2 separate regions of the Homo sapiens genome follow, and region 1 is linked to region 2. Evidence: promoter capture Hi-C in 16 types of primary human blood cells and fetal thymus (Javierre and others, 2016). All regions are on one chromosome and are shown on one strand. Each heading gives the region's core, a stretch centred on a gene start or on the middle of the fragment in contact. The rest is flanking DNA. Distances are from core to core; before and after follow the strand shown. Region 1 overlaps LOC124901782 (a long non-coding RNA gene). Region 2 holds the start of BLACE (B cell acute lymphoblastic leukemia expressed).

Evidence for each region. Contacts are between HindIII fragments. The CHiCAGO score rates a contact against its expected background, and 5 or more counts as called.
Region 1: a contact is called between a fragment that was not itself captured here and the fragment with the promoter of BLACE in region 2, in 5 of 17 cell types (M0 macrophages, M1 macrophages, M2 macrophages and 2 more). The highest score is 9.8, in M0 macrophages.

The regions. Positions count from the first base shown.
Region 1 is chr7:155,191,536-155,198,352 of GRCh38, reverse strand. It overlaps LOC124901782 (a long non-coding RNA gene), which reads left to right. Exons shown (of 2, transcript XR_007060602.1): 1 at 1-1,091; 2 at 1,366-2,768. Among named protein-coding and RNA genes, the nearest start is that of INSIG1, 100 kb to the left of the region's middle. RefSeq lists an enhancer at 1-419. The HindIII fragment of the contact is 1,504 bases long and covers 3,392-4,895 here.
Region 2 is chr7:155,362,455-155,369,912 of GRCh38, reverse strand. It overlaps BLACE (B cell acute lymphoblastic leukemia expressed), which reads left to right and starts at 1,980. Exons shown (of 6, transcript NR_103545.1): 1 at 1,980-2,104; 2 at 6,716-6,809; 3 at 6,963-7,101. It overlaps LOC105375593 (a long non-coding RNA gene), which reads right to left and starts at 5,732. Exons shown (of 3, transcript XR_928236.4): 1 at 5,447-5,732; 2 at 4,523-4,733; 3 at 1-111. The HindIII fragment of the contact is 7,901 bases long and covers 1-4,781 here.

The sequences.
Region 1 (6,817 bases), core at 2,894-5,393, 170 kb after region 2:
ATCCTCTGCCTTCCTGCGTAGTCATGCCTGTCACTCAAGGAAAAACGTCCGGATGACACGTGACACAGCACTGAGTGATTCGGGGTGAGCCCTGGGGAAGGAAAAAATGGGGAAGGTGGTTTGGGGATTTTCACTCTTCTCCCTACATCTGTCTTAGCCTAAGTTTTCTTATCTGTGAAAGAGTTCTGAGATTTTTCGTCGCCAGATGTCTTTATAAAGAGTAAATGAGATCACATACAGGCTGGCCTTGGAGATATTGTGGGTTGGGTTCTAGACCACCTCAATAAAGTGAATACGGCAATACAGTGAGTCACATAAAATTTTTGGTTTCCCAGTGCATATAAATTTATGTTTATACTATACTGTAGTCTATTAAGTATGCAATAACAAGATGTCACTCCAATGTCTCCAGACATTGTCAAATGTCCACAAAGGGTCTGTGTCCAGCAAGACCGTGGAAGTCAGACCTAGGACAGGAAGTAAGGAGTGCAGTGTTGTTAAATATCTATACCTGATATGGATATTTAAGTCTATCAACTACTGTATTTATATTCTCAACTCTAACATTTAATGTTTTCACTATTGTTGTTTCCCTGAAATTCTATAATTCACTTTGTATTTCCCTCTGACTCAAAAGTTGGTTAATAAGGAATCATACGATTTCTAGGTCAAGGCCTTTTTGGTTTTGTGACTTTCTTATCAATTTCTAGTTTCATTGCATTGTGATTAGAAAATGTTTTCTGCATTATCTCTCCTCTTTAGAACTAATTGAAGTTATTTGTGTGGTTTATTAGTTAATTTTGGAAGTGTCCCATGGTCACTTGGAAAGACAATATAGTCTATATTTTTAGGATTTAAAGTTTAGTAGATATCCCTCAGGTATACTAAATTGATCATGTCATTTTGGTCTTTTATATCATTACTTTCTTTTGTACATTTGCTCCAACCTGGGCTGAGAGAATTTGCATTTTCTATAAGTGACCACTGGTACCAGCCAAGGTGGAATACGTGCACTTCCGTCTACCGTCCCACTGGGAACGCTGAAAACTCTGGGAGGAACATAAAGAACAACTCCCTGAGCCCTCTAAAAAGTAAGTAACGACAAAAGGATGGGCAACTGATGTCAAAACTTGATAATGACCCCAAATGGGGGTGAGTTTTGCCTTGTTCCTCTTTCTTTGTCTCTTAGCTCTGACCTGAGGGTGGGTTGAATCTCAGAACTGTGCAGTGGGCCCAGAAGACAAAAATCTGGGATAAAACCTCTCTTTCCAGCCAAAGGACCAGGAAAAGGGACCCCTGCGTGCCAGGGAGTGTGGGAGAAATTTTCACTATTCTTTTTCTTTCCTCTCTTGACCCTGACCCAAGGCCAGCTCCAGCTGTGGAGCTGCACCACTATGCTGCTGGTCCTGGTGCTGGAAGCCCTGAAACTTTGATGAAAGACCCAACTCTCCAACCAGAGGAACTGGAAATGGAGTGGGGTGAATCCCTGTTTATTTCTTCCTCTTTACTGTTGCCACTTGGCTCCAAAGATGGCCCCAGTCATGTGGAACTATACAATAGCACAAAGAATTAAAAAGCTAAGAAAAACCTGATTTTCTGGACAGAAGAAAACTGGAAAAAGAGCTCCAGCTGTTTTAAAAATGGGGGGATAATCCCTGTTAATTTTTTTGTCTTTTCTTTTACCAATTTATTCCTAAGGTAGTCCTAGTCACGCAGAGCTGCATGGCAGTGCGGGAAGCTAAATCTTGGAGATAACACTATCTTTCTGTCCAGAAGAACCAGGAAAGGAGAGCCCTGAATGCCAAAAATTGTGGGAGATATCCTGGAAATTGTCAGTGAACTTGAAGATTAATCAATAGGAATTACACAGCCTGAAGATTGAGAGAAAAAAAAATGAAACAAAAACAGAGCCTCAAGCACCTGTGAGACAATATCAAAAAGTCTAATACTCTTATTATTGGAGTCTCAGAAGAAGAGGAGGAGGACACTGGTGCAGAAAAATATTGAAGAAATAATGGTTGTAAACTTCCCAGACTTGATGAAAAACGTATATATATATAGGTTCAAGAAGGTTAACAAACTCTAAACAAGATAAACTTAAAAAAAATGCATTGTAAATGAAAATCAAAGGTAAAGGAAAGACAATTAAAAGCAACCAGATAAAAACAGTATACTATGTATCAGAGAAGAGTACTTTGGATAACTGCAAATTTCTCATCAGAAAATAGGAAGCAGGAAGATGGTGGAACAACATCTATAAATTACTGAAAGAAAATAATTGTCAACCCAGAATTCTATATCCAGCAAAAATATCTTAGAAATGACAGTGAAATAAGGACATACTCAGATTAAGAGAAAGTAAGAGAATTTGTCACTAACAGACCTATAAAAGAAATGCTTAGCCAAGTTCTTCAGGAAAAAGGAAGATGATCTGGAGGAACACTTGGAACTTCAGGAATGGCATTAGAGCAACAGAAATGATAAATATCTGGTAAATATAATGAATTCTTTTTCTCTTTTTAAATTATTTAAAATGTATATGACTGTTGAAAGCAAATATTGTAACATTTTCTGGGTATAATTATTACTGAGATGTGGTACATATGACAATTATAACATAAGGAGAGGAGGATAAATGAACCAATAGAGTCATAAGCCTTCTATAATATACTTGAAATGGTAAGATATGAACTCTAAGTGGACTATAAAATGTTAAATATATGTATTGTAATCCCTAGAGAAACTACTAATAAACTGATACAAAAAGATATAGCCAGAAAGGACAATGGATTATTTAAAATGGAATAAAAAATATATTCAAATAACCCAAGGAAGGCAGGACCATGGGAAGAGGGTAACACAAAGCAAAAGAAATGAACAAAATCTCCTATAAGCCATGTGTTTTTGCCTATTTTCTTTGTCTTCTCTGTAATTTCTGCTTTTTGAAAGCCTCTTTTACAATACTTAGTCTGTTGATATTCATTACTGCTAATTTTTTTTATAAATTATGAGGCAAAATGATTCAAAGTACCTTGACTTTATTTCATTTAATGTTTTTTGTTTGGCTGAAAAACTACCTTGTTTCATACAAGGACTGAGACCCCTGCTTTTTCTGTTTTCAATTGCAAAGTGGGGACTGATCCTGGCATCTGTTTCACATCAGCCGGTGGATTAACATGTTCATAACAGGTAAAACCCCTATGCCAGGCTTCCTCAACCTCTGCCTCATTGACACTTTGGGCCTGGTGATTCTCTGTGGCAGGGGCTGCCCTGTGCCTTGTAGGATGTTTAGTAACATCCCCGGTCTCCGTTCATTCACTGATGCCAGCAGCACCCTCCACACCCCTCCCCAGCTGGGACAATCCAAACTGTCCCCAGACATGGCCAAGCTTGTCCAGGGGGATGAAGCCTCTCTGGATGAGAAGCACTGACCTGGACAGTGCGGCACAGGTTTGTGCTGTGTGCTTGTTCGCCATGGCCTGCATATCCCAGCTCTGTCCCGATGGCATGGAGCACGGCGGTGTACCCTCCACCCGGAGTTGTCAGGATGATTAGGACGCCCCATGCTCCCAAGGCTTTCCGCGAGGCTGTCATGACTACACAAACATCCTGCAAAGTTGCAGCTTTCAGCCCCTGCAGCACCCCGATCCATTGCCCCTCAGACCCTGCTCAGGGGCAATCCACCCCTAGTGAGGGCGGAGGAGGTGGGGGAGGCGCTGGATATGAAGCCACTGTGTAACACACAAAGCACTATTCAGAAATCAGTGTTACTATCTCTCCCTGGATGGCACAGAGTGGATTAAGGAGCAAAGACAAATTGCTGGGCTCTTGCGACTCTGACCTCTGGGTCATATTTGCTTCTCTGCGAACAATGCAGATTGTCCTCCTGCAAGCTGTTTACAGCTGAGAATAAGCAGACGGCGAAGCAGTTAGTCTCCTTCAACCTTGGCTGTTGCATCCTTAACCAATGGTAACACCTTCCTCACATAGTGCTGAGAAAGAAATCAGGCACTTATTAAATTGTAAAGCACTGAACAAAGTATAGGCTGGTATACTGATAATGATGCATAACTCTGTAGCTCTGGGGTTAATTCTCAAAAAGCACCTTCAAACTTTCTGATTAATAATAGCGCTATCCCACTAAGAACTTAGCCTCCTTACCAGATGCACACTGGAGAAAGTGTGTTCAAAGGATTCACTGTTGCTTGTTGGCTATACCATGCATTATATATCATGCTCCAACTGGTTTTAATACGACCTTATTTGCCTCTCCAAATTCTTTATAAGTAAAGGATGATGCAGTTAAAAGAAGGAGTAACAATGAACTGTGCATCAGACGTTGGGTGAACAAGCAGGCCCAGGCCCCACTAGAGGGTGATTCAACTCAAGAGAGTGGGAGGAGGATAGAAGGAAACAGGGAATGTGGCTTCCACACTGTCCCCTCCACAGCACAGTGTCTGCCCCCATGCCATGCTGGTTTTGCAATATCACCTTCATGAGTCTGTCTCTTTGTGTGATTTTGAAGCTGTTCTGCAGACACTATCATTGCAGCATCTTCTTTCATTTCCTTCTCCGGAAATTAATAACATTTGCTTCTTAAAAATAAACCTGAAAGAAAGCAATTTTATGTATGTGTTAAGTTACACTCTAGATTTAGAGCTTGTTCCACACATTCCTGTTCTGAAAGGGTCCTGGGCACTGAAAACTCTAGGCTGTAGGGTTGAGGATGTGGAGAAGGGACCCGCTGAGCTCTGAGGATGGTCTGCGGTTGGAAGCCGGGGGTCAGTGCTCAGAGGAGCAGCCCCACATACCCCATCTGGGTGGGTGCTTTGTAGTCTTCTCATGGGGAGAATGGGCTCCTTCCCCTCCGCTAGTGCCGGGCTGGCCCTGAAGCTTGCTCAGGGGTGGGAGGGATGAGGCTGGGTAACTTCCTCTTCAAATGCCTGGGGCTCTTGCTTCCCCATCCTGGGAACTGTCCTCTTGGAGGCTAGCACCTTTGTGAAGTCTGACCATTGGGACTGCCATGCTGGGAGGCAGCCCAAGTGCAGCGCAGAGAGTCGGGGTGTGTGTCCAGTTGCCCTGTGGTTCCAACCGTCTCAGCTTAGGCATGTGAGGGAAGGTATTCGCGTCCTGGGGTGGCTGTAACAAATCACCACAAACCAGGTGGCTGAGAATAACAGAAATGTCTCCTCTTGCTGCTCTGCAGTCCCGAGGTCTGGAATCAAGGTGCCAGCAGGTCCCACTCCCTCCAGAGGCCCTGGAGAGAATCTATCTTTGTCTCCTGGTGGCTGCTGAGATTCCTTGGTTTGTGGCTGCATCCCCCAGTCTCTGCCTCTGTCTTCAAGACCCTTGTCTGTCCTCTGTGGTGCTTCTGATTTCCCTCTGCCCATCTTATGGGGACACATGTGACTGTACCTAGGACTCCATTGGATAGCCCAGGATCAGCAACTCCTCTCGAGGTCCTTAACTTCATTGCGTTTTGCTGTACAACATAACAGACCCCAGTCCCACTGGCACCTCCTCCTCTGATTTCTGAGCTCCCACTGTCTGCACCAGTGGCTTGAAATGTTCTACGTATTTCCTGAAATGTATTTTGTATTATTTAATCTTCAGGTGTTGCTTTTGTGGACACCGCTAGATTGCTTGCTCCCTGAGGTCAGGGGCTGTGTCTCACGGGGCTAGTTCCTCAAAGACACGGGACACAGACTGACTCCAGCATCTGTCAAAGATTCCTCCACTTCTGACACCATTGAAGCAGAGACTCCCTTCCTTTCTCCTCTCACACAGCCTCTTTTCACCTGAAAGAGGTTTCTACTTCTCAGGTTTGGCAACAAGCTTAGGTTCCTCTCTTTGACGCTGTCTATGGAATCACAAATGCCACCTGCCTCCCCTCTCAGCCTTCATCTTTCTGGATGAAAGAGTCTTTCCAGTTTTCCTCCCTCCCCACGTGCATGCCCCGGCTTAGGGTAACCATTCCCTGTGATGCTGTGGACATCATTTCCCCAGGGGTTAACCTCAACCTCATCTCAAATTTCTCTCCTGATTCAGTTAACTACTTGAGTAAACCTTATAAACTTAACAGTTAAATATAAGACTCTCATACAAATCTGGAATGAACACATCAGAGATTTGCTTAGCCCAGACTGGGAAAGGGCAAAATTGTACAACTGGTTCAAAGAGTGGCTGACAGAGTTTTGTTTCATCAGCCAACACAGCCCCTGTAAAGGAAGTCTGCTAAGTTAGAGGCCAAAGTGATCAATATCCTACCGCAAACTAAAACCACGGCCTTGGGGGCCAGTAGTTTCAGTGATTTCATTCTCCACCAGACTGAAATCATTTGCATCTCTACTGACAAAATATCTACAAATTAACATGTAACTTCACAAAGTCTAGGCCCTAATCAATGGTAAATAGCAAGTCAAATGAAGGTCCAGTCCTCCCCAAAAATAATGAAGCCAGCCTGGGGTGGACTTGAATGATGGGTGGGTCTTGGCTGTATGGTGACTGCCAAGCACTGGGTGATTTTCTTTTTTTTCTTTTTCACTTTTTTTTTTTTCTGAGATGGAGTCTCGCTCTGTCACCCAGGCTGGAGTGCGGTGGCGTGATCTCTGCTCACTGCAACCTCTGTCTCCTGGGTTCAAGTGATTTTCCTGCCTCAGCCTCCTGAATAGCTGGGATTACAGGCATGCACCATCACGCAGGGCTAAGTTTGGTGTTTTTAGTACAGACGGGGTATCACCATGTTGTCCAGGCTGGTCTGGAACTTCAGACCTCAGGTGATCCACCTGCCTTAGCCTCCCAAAGTGCTGGGATTACA
Region 2 (7,458 bases), core at 731-3,230:
CTGCGCTTTGATGAATTTTAAAGCGTTGGAGTGATCACAGGATGTCCGTCCGAGTTTCACAGTTAGCGAGCTGCTGAGCTGAGCCGAGCTGAGGGTTGGCAGGGTAGAGTCCTATGGGAGAAACACTGCTTGGATCACAGAGATTTCTGTGTATCAGGAACCAACAAATACTAAGTAAGCACTTGCTGTGGCTAAATGCTTACCACATCGGCTGAGTAGGGGGTGTGCAGATGGGGGAGTCCCACAGCCCCCAAAACCAGCTACAACATCCACGTTTTACTCAGACAAGGGGCCCTCAAGCACCACCTCATGCCGAAGTGCTGCTTCACGTGAATAGAGCTAGGATTCTAAGCCAAAAGGCCTTTCTAGAACTTTCTGCATGTACCAAAGAAGCTGCTTCCACCTCACTGCCTCCTTTCCACTGTTAGTGTTCTGCTGAGGCTTCTCTTGGGCTCTGCCTCTCCCTGCCCAACACCTGAGAAAGGCCTGATCAGTGCTGGAGGCACTGGGTGGCACCTCTCCTGCGGACGTGCTTCCCACGTAAGGCAGGTATAGGGAGACCTGCCTGTCTAGAAAGACATATGTTTACATGTCAGAGAGAAACACAACACCTGCACTCTCTAACCATTTCCTGAAAGACCCCTCTTGACACACCTTAGGGGCTTCAGGGCCACACTGCCTGGCACAGCTGGTTCCCAGTGTGGACCTGTCTCCACTGCCAGCCCCTGCCCCACCCTCTCCACCTGAGTCCTGATCCCTGGTGACCAAGAGAGGCTGTGCTGCTTCTGGCCTTCACAGTAAGCCAGATGGCCTGGGAAGCGAGACTCTCTCTGCCTCCCAGCACTCCAGGCTGCAGTTGCTGTTTCATCATCCATGGGTGTAAAACACCAAGCAAGTGACATGATACAGAATGACCTCCCTGTGCTGGCAGTGGCACCACAGAAACAGGAAGACTCAGAGCCAGAAGCTGCCTGCGCAGATTGCCATTATGGAGCCTGGGAAATCAAGTCCTAGAAAGATTATCTGTTTTTTTTTTTTTTTTTGAGATAGGAGCTTGCTCTGTCGCCCAGGCTGGAGTGCAGTGGTGTGATCACTGCTCACTGCAGCCTCTGCCTTCTGGGCTCAAGCAATCCTCTAGCTTCATCCTCCCAAGTAGCTGGGACTACAGGCATGCGCCGCCATGCTTGGCTAATTTTTTAAACTTCTTGTAGAGACAAGGTCTCACTATGTTGCCCTGGTTGGTCTTGAACTCCTTGGCTCCAGTGATCCGCCTGCCTCCAGTGATCCTCCCACCTCGGCCTCCCAAAGTGCTGGGATTACAGGCATGAGCCACTGTACCTGTCCTAGAAAGATTAAAGGATACCTCTACGTCTACCTCTACCTCTACCTCTACCTCTACCTCTACCTCTACCTCTACCTCTAACCTCTAACCTCTAACCTCTAACCTCTACCTCTACCTCTACCTCTACCTCTCCCCACGGTCTCCTTCCACGGTCTCCCTCTGATGCCGAGCCGAAGCTGGACTGTACTGCTGCGATCTCGGCTCACTGCAACCTCCCTGCCTGATTCTCCTGCCTCAGCCTGCCGAGTGCCTGTGATTGCAGGCACGCGCCGCCACGCCTGACTGGTTTTCGTTTTTTTTTGGTGGAGACGGGGTTTCGCTGTGTTGGCCGGGCTGGTCTCCAGCTCCTAACCGCGAGTGATCCGCCAGCCTCGGCCTTCCGAGGTGCTGGGATTGCAGACGGAGTCTCGTTCACTCAGTGCTCAATGGTGCCCAGGCTGGAGTGCAGCGGCGTGATCTCGGCTCACTACAACCTACACCTCCCAGCCGCCTGCCTTGGCCTCCCAAAGAGCCGAGATTGCAGCCTCTGCCCGGCCGCCACCCCGTCTGGAAAGTGAGGAGCGTCTCTGCCTGGCCGCCCATCGTCTGAGAGGTGGGGAGCACCTCTGCCTGGCAACCACCCCGTCTGAGAAGTGAGGAGCCCCTCCGTCCAGCAGCCACCCCGTCTGGGAAGTGAGGAGCGTCTCCGCCCGGCAGCCACCCCGTCCGGGGGGGAGGTGGGGGGGGTCAGCCCCCCGCCCGGCCAGCCGCCCCGTCCGGGAGGTGAGGGGCTCCTCTGCCCGGCCGCCCCTACTGGGAAGTGAGGAGCCCCTCTGCCCGGCCAGTCGCCCCGTCCAGGAGGGAGGTGGGGGGGTCAGCCCCCCGCCCGGCCAGCCACCCAGTCCGGGAGGGGGGAGGGGGGTCAGCCCCCTGCCCGGCCAGCCGCCCCGTCCGGGAGGGAGGTGGGGGGATCAGCCCCCCGCCTGGCCAGCCGCCCCGTCCGGGAGGTGAGGGGCGCCTCTACCCGGCCGCCCCTACTGGGAAGTGAGGACTCCTCTGCCCGGCCAGCCGCCCCGTCCGGGAGGGAGGTGGGGGGTCAGCCCCCCGCCCGGCCAGCCGCCCCGTCCGGGAGGGAGGTGGGGGGATCAGCCCCCCGCCTGGCCAGCCGCCCCGTCCGGGAGGTGAGGGGCGCCTCTGCCCGGCTGCCCCTACTGGGAAGTGAGGAGCCCCTCTGCCCGGCCAGCCGCCTCGTCCGGGAGGGAGGTGGGGGGTCAGCCCCCCGCCCGGCCAGCCGCCCCGTCCGGGAGGGAGGTGGGGGGATCAGCCCCCCGCCCGGCCAGCCACCCCGTCCGGGAGGTGAGGGGCGCCTCTGCCCGGCCGCCCCTACTGGGAAGTGAGGAGCCCCTCTGCCCGGCCAGCCGCCCCGTCCGGGAGGGAGGTGGGGGGTCAGCCCCCCGCCCGGCCAGCCGCCCCGTCCGGGAGGGAGGTGGGGGGATCAGCCCCCCGCCCGGCCAGCCGCCCCGTCCGGGAGGTGAGGGGCGCCTCTGCCCGGCCGCCCCTACTGGGAAGTGAGGAGCCCCTCTGCCCGGCCAGCCGCCCCGTCCGGGAGGGAGGTGGGGGGGTCAGCCCCCCGCCCGGCCAGCCGCCCCGTCCGGGAGGTGAGGGGCGCCTCTGCCCGGCCGCCCCTACTGGGAAGTGAGGAGCCCCTCTGCCCGGCCAGCCGCCCCGTCCGGGAGGGAGGTGGGGGGGTCAGCCCCCCGCCCGGCCAGCCGCCCCGTCCGGGAGGTGAGGGGCGCCTCTGCCCGGCCGCCCCTACTGGGAAGTGAGGAGCCCCTCTGCCCGGCCAGCCGCCCCGTCCGGGAGGGAGGTGGCGGGGGTCAGCCCCCCGCCCGGCCAGCCGCCCCGTCCGGGAGGTGAGGGGCGCTTCTGCCCGGCCGCCCCTACTGGGAAGTGAGGAGCCCCTCTGCCCGGCCACGACCCCGTCTGGGAGGTGTGCCCAGCGGCTCATTGGGGATGGGCCATGATGACAATGGCGGCTTTGTGGAATAGAAAGGCGGGAAGGGTGGGGAAAAAATTGAGAAATCGGATGGTTGCCGGGTCTGTGTGGATAGAAGTAGACATGGGAGACTTTTCATTTTGTTCTGTACTAAGAAAAATTCTTCTGCCTTGGGATCCTGTTGATCTATGACCTTACCCCCAACCCCATGCTCTCTGAAACATGTGCTGTGTCCACTCAGGGTTAAATGGATTAAGGGCGGTGCAAGATGTGCTTTGTTAAACAGATGCTTGAAGGCAGCATGCTCGTTAAGAGTCATCACCACTCCCTAATCTTAAGTACCCAGGGACACAAACACTGCGGAAGGCCACAGGGTCCTCTGCCTAGGAAAACCAGAGACCTTTGTTCACTTGTTTATCTGCTGACCTTCCCTCCACTATTGTCCTATGACCCTGCCAAATCCCCTTCTGCAAGAAACACCCAAGAATGATCAATAAAAAAAAAAAAAAAAAAAAAAAGAAGAGTTCCAAAAAATTTAACAGCATTTCCAGCAATGATTATTTCTGAAATAAAAAGATATGAAACATAATTTATACAAAACTAAAAAAAAAAAAAAAAAAAAAAAAAAGGATTAAAGGATCAACCATCAGGTCCCTAACCACAGACCCAAAGACGGAAGCCTTGGCAGGTAATAGTAGTAGTAATAATAATAACAATAACCCACAGCATCGCCAGGCATCATGCAGCTCTGTGAGTGCAGCCCCATAGCAAGCCCCAAAGGTAGATGCTCTTCTTCTTCTCATCTTACAGAGGCACCCAGGGGCTTGGTGACTTCCCCAAGGCCACACAGCCTGCTAACTGTGCTAAGTGGTGACCCGTTCCCTTGAATGGTAACCACGCCATCTGGCTCAAAACTACTGGCCAGCACTGCCTCTCACAGAGACTCCTGTCCCATCCAATGTGGATAAATAAGCATAGATAAGAGAGAGGCGGAAGGAAGGCCCAGCCACCCACCCAGCTGCAGAGTCCCTGCCTTTAATCCTCAGAACCTGCCTGTCCCTGAGGGCAGATGTAATGAAAGAAGGTTTGAATCTTCTAGTTTTATCTGAAAGGACACAGCTGGCCCTGAATGCCGTTCACCCAATAACCCACACGGGAGAGACTCCAGATGTTGTCTTAATGCCCGAGCCTCAGCTCCCACTTACCCTCTTTCCTGGGCTTTGATCGCATGAGTCTTAATCCCCGCTGGTGACCTGGCCTCCATCCACCTGTTTCCGTCCACTATCTGGGAAGGCAGCAATGCCAACCTCTTCGGAATTCTTTGGCCTAAACACCTGTTCCCATCAACGATTCCTGTTCCTGAAACCTCCTGCCTTCCCAAGGGATGGCACCAACACAGCTGGAGTGAGGCTGTCACTGCTCCCTCCAGCAAATGTCCCCAAATCATCAAAAAAAAGGAAAGCTTAGTTAATATCTTGCAATTAAAAGTCAGGAGATGTGTCTGCTTAATAACAAATTAGATGATTTCTTCCAAAGTGGACAAAATATGATTAAAAGTTGAGATTCTTATTACACATCGAGAAAACTTAGCTCCCTACAAAAACAAAGAGTTTTGCTGTAGTTCATTCCAAGGCTTTGCAATGCAAACAACCATGAATGAAGACTTAGGAGCCTGCCTGGATGGTGGCTCTGAGCATGGGCTAAGCCCCCAGCAGGCTGAATTAGAGCTTACTAGCTGTGTGGCTTTGTCCTCCAACCTCTCTGAGTCTTATTCTCTTCCCTCCAAAGTGGGGCAGGAATCATAACCACAGATGCTGGGATGCTGCACGAGAGAAACTCTTGGGGATCAATTCCTGTCACTAACGCTAGCTGCTCTCAGCCACTCTTCTCTTTAGACCTCAGCAAGACCAGCGGGGCTCAGTCATGCCCGTCTGTACCCACAGCTGTCAATCCCAGGTCGAGGGCTTAGGTCAGGGAGAAGATGAAACGAGCCCAAGGAGGGAGGAATAGAAATAGGGCCACGGGGCAGAGAAGCAGAAGGTGCTGGGGTTGGGAGGAACTGGTGCTGTGGTCCCCCCTTCAGCTCTTTCTTGGACAGACACTCAAGAGTGTCCCATGGGGATACCCACGGTGTGTCTGCTCCTGCACAGCCCCTCTGGATGCCGATAGAGTCGGTTTGACGTTTGACCTGCCTCACGGGCCTTGCTTCACTCTTCCTGCGCATCTGGCCTGTCCTCCGTGAGCTCCGCAGCCAGGGTGCATGGTCTTTGAATTTCTGTGGAGTGTGCCCTTCCCATCCACGTTTGTATCTTGACAGTGTGGAGGAAAGAGTGAGGCTTCCTTCCCCTGGCAGCTGAGCCCTGAGGCTCCTGTACTGGCCTGTCTTGAAAACTGCCCCCGAGTTGCTTGTATAACAAATAAGGTTCCAGATTTCAAAGCTTCATAGACCACTGTGGGGGATGGGAACAGCCTTGAGAAATCACCCGCTTCAAACCGATTCTCTGTTCTCTGAAGCCACATAAACGGATGCAGCATCAATGACTTTATCTTTTTTTAACTGCACCCTCTGCAGGCAGAGAAAGGGGCAGGGTTGAATTCCGCTGCATGCTGTCCTCTGCCGACCTTTTCTGTCCGTGCAGGTGAAAGGTGCAAAGTCTCCGTGGGTGAGGCAGGCAAGGTGCAGAGGGCTTCGGTGTGGGCGGGGGTGTTAGTCCCTAAGCTCATGGGCCCCCAGATAACTGAGAGCTGACTCAGTGCTCCCTGGTTTGGACTTAATGTAGTCTAAAGAGATGAAAACTCCTGGTAAGTCTTTCCCTGGCCCTCCCGCCTCTGTGGTCACCTCACCCAGCCACCACTGACCTTCTCTGGAGGAAAATAAACTCCAAACTCTTGACATTCAGTTCACCTAGAGTTGCAAAATGAAAGTTTAAACGGGAAGAAGCGTTCACTGTGAAGGGAAGGCACCTGCAAGCCCTGGCGTCTGGGCAGAGGGGAGACTTAGAAGTTTGGGAGCCGGGTTCCCTGTCACTTTTGCAGGTGGCAAGTGAATTTTCACTCAGAGAAAATCAAATCACTTTAGAAGGTGCCTAATGTGGGAAGAAGATGGGGGTTAGATCACCGAGGTCAGGTCTGTTGTGTGACACCTGAAACGGTTTTCCTGAATTCGGAGTGCCCAGGCCGGGTCTTTTTGTACTTCATTTTGTTTTGTTTTTTGTTTTTGAGACAGGGTGTCATTTGGTCACCCAGCCGGGAGTGCAGCGGCGCAATCACTGCCCACTGTAGCCTCCATCTCCCATGCTCAAGGATCCTCCCGCCTCAGTCTCCCAAGTAGCTGGGACCACAGGCATGGGCCACCACACCCAGCTAATTTGTTTTTTTGGTTTTTTGTTTTTTTGTAGAGATGGGGGTCTCGCCATGTTGTCCAGGCTGGTGTTGAACTCCTGAGTTCAAGTGATCCTCCTGCTTTGGCTCCCCAAAGTGCTGGGATTACAGGTATGAGCCACGGTATCTGGTCCAGTCTGGTTTTTAAATGGAGATGACAGTGAGCCCAGGGGAGTGTTGGTAAGGCCTGAACACCGAGCTGCCGCCTTCCCTGCAGGCCTGGTTTTGTAAATATCAGTCTGGTAGCGGATCCCTTTCCCCCAGGGAGCTTCACAAATCATACATTAACCAGAGCTCCTGAAACAGAAGGCCAGACGGGACATATTACAGCAGGAACTGGCTCACCACCATCCAGGGTCCCGCATCCCAGGAGGCTGTTTAAATCAACACACAGACTATGCAGGTAAAGTATCCATGCAGGTCCCAAGGTGGCCTCACTCTCTGTGGACCCTGGGGCTCTGTGGCCCGTGGGCACCCCTCACAGCTGGTCTCTTTCTGGAGGATTCTCCCTGCTGAATGTGTGCTTCCTTAGGGCAGGGCCACCTCTCAGCCAAGTCTGGGGAGTGATGGGGTGAGGCGTGGGTGGGAGAAGCCTCTGGGTTGGCCAGCCCTCAGCAGGCATCTGATTTCATGATCATCTGGGCTCTCCATGCATGAGCTGTCTCGGTGGTTGACTTGGGGTGGTTCAGATGAACTCCAGAGTGAGCTGGCATCTCTGATCCTCCCTTAGAGCACCTCCAGTCTTACCCCGAGAATTCTT